Linked DNA regions of Homo sapiens: regions 1 and 2 are each linked to region 3. The links are contacts of gene promoters, found by promoter capture Hi-C in human tissues and cell types (Jung and others, 2019). All regions are on one chromosome and are shown on one strand. Each heading gives the region's core, a stretch centred on a gene start or on the middle of the fragment in contact. The rest is flanking DNA. Distances are from core to core; before and after follow the strand shown. Region 1 holds the start of TMEM9 (transmembrane protein 9). Region 2 overlaps CACNA1S (calcium voltage-gated channel subunit alpha1 S). Region 3 holds the start of CACNA1S (calcium voltage-gated channel subunit alpha1 S).

Region 1 (2,700 bases), core at 163-2,662, 42 kb before region 3:
CTAACATTGCCATTTATAGAGCCTCCCTCTTTGTGTCAGATGCTGTTCTAGGTGCTTTGCATATGTAAACTCATTATATCCCTACAACCACCTTGAAAATTTGGTAATATTAATCCCATTTTATGGGCATGGAAACCGAGACTTCTGAAAGGATTCCAAAGACTTCCAAAGATCCAAAGGCGGTGTCCTAAAGGAAACCACCCAAATTCACACAACTAGGAAGGGAGGAACCAGGATTCCTGCCCTGGTCACTCTAGCTCCAAAGCCCCTGACCTTTGCATCACACTGCAGGCCTCCTGCCCCTGCCCCCTGCCAACTAGATTTAATTTAATTCTATAGAATTCAGTTTAGCAAACACTTCCTGAGCACCTACCAAACACAGGTCACTCTGCCAGGTGGCAAGGATATAAAGAGGAATAAGACATAAGCATAGGAGAGAGGAACACAAACTCAGTGGCCTCCAGATAAGTGCCCACCTCAGTTCACAGGGCCTGCGAGGGGCTTGATTCCACCTGGACCCAGCCCCTATGCTAATCCAGCCACCAACCTCAAGTTTGGGCCATATTGATACCCCTCCCACCCACCCCTAAGGAATCCCAACATATCAAAGCTGAAGGGGATCTTAGAATCCAACCGAATCATTTTACAGATAAGGGAAGTAAGGGAAGCTGAGGCCCAGAGAAGGGAGGTATCTTTTCCAGGCTAACACAGCTGCTTAGGGGGAGCGCCAGGGCCAAAGCCCCGGTGTCCTCACTCCGGGTCTGGTGCCCTGAATTCATATGACTCCCCTTTCCTTCACAGCTGGCAAGAAGTTCACATCTGCCACATAGCAGCCAGGGACCCTCACCCCTGCATCCTGGCCATGCACACTTTGCCCCATTTTGCCAGGCCCAGCACCAGCATGGGGTAGGGGGATCAGGCTGAGGACGCTGTTGTGCACACTCTTCACAGGCCCAGCCCACACCACCCATCGCCAACCCTAGATTTCTCCTTCTCAGAGGTGTGTGTAGGGGTAGAGACGTTGCCGCGCAGAAAGTCTTCTGCAGCAAAGACGTGGATCCCTAAATAACATTTCCAGATTTTGAATGAGGACAAAGCCCTTCAATCTCGTATCGTTTTTGTTGACGTTACTAGCTTACAGTGTATAAAGCGCTTTCTTTCTAAAACAGCAAGATGAAACAAGCTGAGTTTTATAATACAAGGAAGGGAGAAGCACCGCAGTGGGAGTTCTCAGGCCACACAAAGGCAAGACCCTTCCCCAGGAGTTTGGAAGGCTGACGTTCCCTTTTCTGGTTTGGTCGGGTTTGAGAAATGCCCGCCTCTCCCTTGCGCAAGAGTCTCCCCGCCCAGGTGAAGGCGGGTCTTGTTGCCATGGCGACAGCGCGGTCGGGTTAAGGGGCTGCTCTGGCAACCAATAGAAGCTAGGAGAGGGCGGGGACAACTGGGTCTTTTGCGGCTGCAGCGGGCTTGTAGGTTCGTGGACGCGGCATTGGGGGAGGGGACGGGGGTCGCGGGGCTATTGGGGGTCCCAGTCCGGCTTAAGACCTCTGGGCGTGGTGGGCACCGGCCTTCGCCGTCGGAGCAGGGGTCCCAGACTCGCACCCAAAAGTTCCCGTCGGGCCCGAGCGGGGAGGAGCTGCGGGGCGGGCAGAGGCGGAGATGGCGGAGGGCGGTGGGACGTGATGCGCGGGTCAGAGCCGGGCCTTGAGAAGGAACTGGAGGCCCCTGGCAGCGGTGTCCCCTCGAGGACCCCTCTGCCGGGCTCACCAGGTGGCTGGCGGAGAGCCGGAGAGTTGGGCGGGAGGGAAGCAGGGTTTGGCGACCAGGTTTAGCAGGCCTTGGAATCCTGGAGCCCAGCCCCCAACCCCATTCCCACTTGGCCGGATGGTTAAGGGCCTAGCGTGCTGGCTGCGGTGTGGCCACCTTCCCCTTCTCCGACTCCGTATCTCTTTTTCCAGGTGTCCGGCTTTGCTGGCCCAGCAAGCCTGATAAGCATGAAGCTCTTATCTTTGGTGGCTGTGGTCGGGTGTTTGCTGGTGCCCCCAGCTGAAGCCAACAAGGTGAGGGAGGTGAGCCTGCAGCACCTGGTCACGACCACAGTGCACGGCCACCCTGTCTACAGGGCTGACTCAGAGGTAGCCAGCTGCTCCTTAAGCCTGCCTCTCACTCACCTATGGGCCATACTTCTTTTAGTGGTCTTCCTTCAGGTTCAAGGCTGCTGGCCTCCCTAAGGATAGTGCGGGTGAGGAGTGAGGAAGGGTGGGGCACAGAGCACTGGCTCACTCTGATCAGACAGATCAGTGGTGGACTTCCAGCAAGGAAGTTTGGAGAAGTTATCTAAGTTCTCCATACCTTCCTTTGCTTTGGACCAAAGTATGTTTTGTTTCAGATATTTTTGGATTTGGGAGTATTTGCACATAAAAAATGAGCTATCTTGGGGAGGGGACCTAAGTCTAAACCTGAAGTTCGTTTATGTTTCATATATGCTGTATATACATAGCCCGAAGGTAATTTTATACAATATTTTCAATAATTGTGTGCATGAAACAAAGTTTATCTACACTGAACCATCAGAAAGCAAAGGCGTCACTATCTCAGGCACCCATGTGGATAGTCTGGTTGGTTGGCATCACCACCATTCCTGACAATGAATTTATATGCTACCGATAAATATTTTCTTACGTTACACATAAGTTCTTA
Region 2 (2,700 bases), core at 36-2,535, 41 kb after region 3:
CCCTTCTGTGCAAATAAGCCATCTGCCAGCTTGTCTCTCTCAACAATGCACACAACAGAAAAACCCATACATTTTACTTTCATGTAACTCAGCAAGTATTTATTGAGTGCCAGCTATGTGCCTCACTGCCAAGGACTCAGTTTTCAAGAAGCACAGGGACACGTGGGTATACAAGTCTTCCCTGCCAGTCATGCAGAATGGATCATAAATGAGGACACGCCCATATATGTCGTGATGAGGCAGATTACTCACTATCCAGTGTCTGGTAGGGCTGGGGGCCGGAAGGATACAGGGATGGATAGAACCATGGCAGGCAATGTGGGAAAGTCCAAGAGGAGGAAACAATGGTGGGGTAGGGGGAGCATGGATAAGAAACAACCGTGGATAAACCACAAACATCTCATAAATGCAAATAGCCAGTGACTGCTGCAGAAATCCCATTTATCTGGACCAAGAAGAGGACAAGCAGAACCAGGCTGAATTAATCTTACCAGGCCACCTGACAGAGCCCTGGGGCCCAAGAACTCTCTGGGTCCTGGGTCCTTCGGATCACCGGGTCAGTGGGGCAATTTTAGATCTACTTGTCCCATCAGCTGATCAGCTACTTGTATGTCTACTTATGGAATCAGCTGATTAGCATCTGTTTGCCCCAGTGACTCTAAGCTCCAGGGGGACTTTTGTGTTCCACACAGCACAGTGTTTGGCTCAGAGGAGGCACTCAATAAATTGAATGAATGAATGCATGAAAGAATTTTGCAAAGTGAAGTATGGGGAGAATGGAGCTGGTACAAATAAGAATAATGAAATTTCTTCAAATATCTACCAGCAATGAATATTTGTGTTTTAGAATAACTCATTTTGAGTTGTTTCATCTAACAGTTATCACCTCTTAGATGGCAGTGACTTGTGTGCAGGTGAGATGGTGGCTGACAGGAAATCTGAGGTCAGGGACAAGGAAGGGGCTGGAAAGAAGTAAGGAGAGGAGGGGTAGAGGGGGTGTGGGCTGGACAGCAGGAAGAGAGTCTTACCAAGGGGACTGAATGTGTTTATATCCTGCTTCTTTCTAAAAATAGTTTGAAATGGCTTACAGCAAAAGATATGTGCAATGAAATTAACAAACTGGGCATAGGTGGAGGAAGTAAGAAGGCGGGGGAAAGATGCAAATATGCTAACTCGAAGAATTAATGGTCTCTGCGATTAAGCGTGAAATGTGTCTCTGGGGTCTGTGGCAGGCTGGGCAAGACAGAAAGTGTCACGTTAGGACACTCATTCCAAGGAATAAGAGTTCTAGCTTCTCGGGGGAACAGAAAAATTGGAATGTGACTTGGTGGATTTGAGAACCCCTACAGGTGGCCATGATGGAGACAGTAGAATCCAGTAGCTCTTGGCTTCCCTCAAGGCCTCTGCCAGGGGCCAGGAGGGTTAGGGAGGAGGTAGCTGTCAGGGGAGGGAACCAAGAGAAACCCCAGCTTTGAATAGTGCCCCCACCGTCTGATCACGGGATTCTCCCACCCTGGGAGCTGAGGATTTCGGGTACTCAGCTTCCTCTTGAGGTCATGAGACTCAGTGAATGTGCTTGGAATGTCCGTCTCTTCATCCCCTATCCCCTGCCTGCATCCTGGGGACTGGGTGAAGCTCAAGAAATTCTGATTGCTTTTTTCCATGCTGGAAGAAGCTTCTCTGTGAAGTTACTATTTTTAAAATCCTAGCCCAGGAGAGGATCACAGGGTCCTTTTATTTCAACAACCCTCCTGCCCCTTGTCGGTTTCACAAATTGGAAACTGACGCTAAGGAAGGGCACAGACCTTCCCAGCACTGCACAGCAAGTTAGACGCAGACCTGGGACTAGGACCCAGGTCTCTTCTTCTGAAGCAGCGTTTCCCACTCCATCCCCCAGCCTATGGATATTTGAGGCTGTGTGGATCGAGCCTTGAGACACAACATGCAGCCACAAAGTTACTTGGGCTTGCTCCTTGCCCCACTTCTGGAAGGTTGTGGGCTTCCCTTACCTACCCTTGACGCTCAAATCTGCTCACTGTGAAGAGAAGGAGATGCCCGGGCTGGACTCTGCCAAAGCCCTAGGGTCCCAAGTCAGCCTGGTGGTCCCTTGCTTACTGGCTGCAGGGGCTCCTAGGAGGGCTCTGAGCACAGAAGCCATGGGCATAGCAAAGCATGGGAAGACACCCCTAATTCCTCTCTCTCTCCCCACAGGGGATGACGAGGAAGATGAGCCTGAGATCCCGCTGAGCCCCCGACCACGTCCCCTGGCTGAGCTGCAGCTGAAAGAGAAGGCCGTGCCCATTCCAGAAGCCAGCTCCTTCTTCATCTTCAGCCCCACCAATAAGTGGGTGCCCCTTGGCTGCTGTGGGGGTGATTGATGCGGCTCTCATCTGCTTCCCTGCCCTAGAAAAAACCCTGTCTGACTCTCCATGCCTACAGTTATACTATGAGAAACTCAGTGTTTTAGCTTAAGATCTTGTGCCCTGTTTAAAATGCTAGTATATCTGGGAAAAGTAATGCTTTAAACCTTATCAGTTATTTACACCTAAGAGGGACCTGTTTATTGGTTCCTTTCTGAGAGAAGAGCTTTAGACAGGTCAAGGGGGAGAGAGCAAGGGAAGCTATAGTTTTTATCGGCTTCATAATTTTACACCTTTAAACTATACACAGGCCATAGTCTCTGTGGAGTTTCATCTGTCT
Region 3 (2,700 bases), core at 200-2,699:
TGGGAGGATATGTGGGGTTCGCTGTTAGCTCAGCACATTTAAGATTCAGTGTTGTTAGCTCAGGCGTTCAATGAATTTTTTTTTTTTTTTTTTTTTTTTTGAGACAGGTTTTGCTCTGTTGCCCAGACTGGAGTGCAGTGATTCAATCCCTGCTCACTGCAACCTCCTTCTCCTGGGTTTGAGCAATTCTCCTGCCTCAGCCTCCAGAGTAGCTGGGATTATAGGTGCACACCACCACGCCCGCTAATCTTTGGTATTTTTAGTAGAATGCGGGTTTCACCATGTTGGCCATGCTGGTCTCGAATTCCTCACCTCAAGTTATCTACCTACCTTGGTTTCCCAAAGTGCTGGGATTACCGTGGCTATCCTCAATGAACTTTTCTTTTTGAGACAAGGTCTCACTCTGTCTCACTCTGTCATCCAGGCTGGAGTGCAGTGGCCAGATCTTGGCTCATTGCAGCCTCAACCTCCCAGGCTCAACTGATCCTCCCACCTTGGCCCCCCTAGTAGCTGGGACTACAAACACACACCACCATACCCTGCTAATTTTTGTATTTTTTGTAGAGACAGAGTTTCACTACGTTGCCCCGACTGGTCTTGAAGTCCTGAGCTCAAGCCATTCTCCCACCTCAGCCTCCCAAAGTGTTGGGATTACAGGCGTGAGCCACCATGCCTGGCCTCAGTGAACATTTACAGGGAGCATAGTACATAGGGGGACTGTGCAGAGAAGGGGCCAGAGTCCCAGAGATAATGCACACAACCTTTACACCTGTAGGGATGGGAGGAGATGGGGAAGAAAGATACACAGCAGATGCTCCACAGTGAGGCAGGTGCTATGCCAGAGGTGTGCACACTCAGGGTTGTTCTGGGAGCCTTCTAGCCCACTGGAGAGGGGTTTACTGTTTCTCTGACATGGGATTGCTTGTGGGGGTGGGTTGAGGGTATGCTTGGGGAGTTTTGGCTGATGGTGCAGATACTGAGATGGGTAGGGGCTGCTGTGGAGCTGTCCTGACTTAGGCTGCCCAGTGCCTTCTCCAGACAATGTCATGGGGCTGAGGAGGGGTAAGCCTAATTTTGGCATGAGGGGGCCACTCTGCAGTTTGAGGTTCCATATCCAAGGCTACCTATTCCTGACCTCTGTTGCCCCAGGCTTGAAACCTTCCATCCTGTCTCCCTCTCCCACTGCCCCTGCCCCATCCCAGGCCTGTGTGTAAGTTCTTCCCCCGACCCACCCCACCCTCCTCAGGGGACAGATTGGGAAGTCACTGGCTGGGCTGGGTGGAATGACAGCTGCCTGGCCTCAGAAGCTCAGGCCCGGCAGCGGGGAGCCGAGTGGAGGCTAATTTTACTTGCTGGGAGCGAGGAGAGTAATCCTCCTGCCCCCACTCCTGCCCCCGCCCCCTGGCTGGCTCAGCAGGGCAGGCTCAGCCGACAGCCTCAGCCAGCCTAGTCCCCAAGGCGGGGGCATTGGGGACACAGGGAAGGGAAAGCACTGGGGTGGGGGAGCAGGAGAAAGCCAGATTCCCAGGGAAGCCATGGAGCCATCCTCACCCCAGGATGAAGGCCTGAGGAAGAAACAGCCCAAGAAGCCAGTTCCTGAGATTCTGCCAAGGCCACCCCGGGCCTTGTTCTGCCTGACCCTGGAGAACCCCCTGAGGAAGGCCTGCATCAGCATTGTAGAATGGAAGTATCCTTCAGGGCCCGGGCCGTGGGGGGGGGTGTGCGTCATGAGGGAGGGATTCGGGGTGATCACAGAGCACAAACTTCCTACAGGAGGGCCAGGGAGGCCTGGCACTTAGACATGGGGTGAACTCACAGAATTGAGTGAGGAGCTGGGGGAAGGAGCCCTCGGCTAAGCAGGAGAGGAGGAGGAGGAAGAGGAGGAAGACGAGGAGGGTGGGGGAGGAGGAGGAAGAGGAGGAGGGTGGGGGAGGAGGAGGAAGAGGAGGAGGAGGAAGAGGAAGAGAAGGAGGACTTGGTGGGGCTTCCTGGGCCTGAGTGGGCCACCCAAGTCCTGGATGACAACCAGAGATGCCTACTGACCACCTATGGGTGGGGCCTGTTTCATGGGGACTGTTCCCATGTGTGCCCAAATCCACATTATCATGGGGTGCCACTAGGTTTTTGAAGCACCAGCCTCATTTTAGAATAGGATAGGGACCAAAAAAAGATGCGATGGCCTCTTTGAGAAAACTCTCCCTTGTTTGGGTTGGGTGGGGGGTGACAGTGGACAGAGGTGAGCTGAAGGAAGGCTTCCTCTGGGGGCAGGTCCCAGCTGAGGACAGAGCCAAGGGGAGAAATGGATCTGAAAGACACCTGGTCTCAGTGGCTCCAAGACACAGGCCAAACAAGCCTGGTTGTTCTAGCTCAGACGTGCCACCCTGGGGACAGGGACTTTGAAACTCATGCTATGTTTGCATTTGCTCTGGTGGGGAGAATGATGAAAATATCTGGGTTATTTGGGGAAGGGAGGAAGGAGTGACAGAGAGAAGGGGAGGGCTGTGTCAAGTGGGTTCTGAGAGCGAGGGTGGGGCATATTTGAAATATTTCTGAAGAGTTCTGGAAGGCTGGGCTCCTACCAGCTGTTCCCTAGAAGGAAGGAGAATGAGGGATAACTGGAAGGACAAGAGAAACGTGGGGCAAGTAGAGATAGTTTGGGGTCAGGGTCAGCCCTGTTCCCCTGACCCGCTCTCGGCCAGG

The links. Contacts are between HindIII fragments. The study calls those that stand out against the background at their distance.
Region 1: a fragment that was not itself captured here is called in contact with the fragment with the promoter of CACNA1S in region 3 in 1 of the 25 tissues and cell types used here (ovary).
Region 2: a contact is called between a fragment that was not itself captured here and the fragment with the promoter of CACNA1S in region 3, in 2 of the 25 tissues and cell types used here (liver and psoas muscle).

What each region holds. Positions count from the first base shown.
Region 1 is chr1:201,153,218-201,155,917 of GRCh38, reverse strand. TMEM9 (transmembrane protein 9) reads left to right here and starts at 1,444. Exons shown (of 5, transcript NM_001288565.2): 1 at 1,444-2,060. The coding sequence starts at 1,995. RefSeq lists a silencer at 1,368-1,647 and an enhancer at 2,058-2,207. The HindIII fragment of the contact is 5,085 bases long and covers 1-2,700 here.
Region 2 is chr1:201,069,916-201,072,615 of GRCh38, reverse strand. CACNA1S (calcium voltage-gated channel subunit alpha1 S) reads left to right here. Exons shown (of 44, transcript NM_000069.3): 17 at 2,212-2,344. Among named protein-coding and RNA genes, the nearest start is that of CACNA1S, 41 kb to the left of the region's middle. The HindIII fragment of the contact is 4,386 bases long and covers 1-2,700 here.
Region 3 is chr1:201,111,175-201,113,874 of GRCh38, reverse strand. CACNA1S (calcium voltage-gated channel subunit alpha1 S) reads left to right here and starts at 1,449. Exons shown (of 44, transcript NM_000069.3): 1 at 1,449-1,687. The coding sequence starts at 1,536. The HindIII fragment of the contact is 14,734 bases long and covers 1-2,700 here.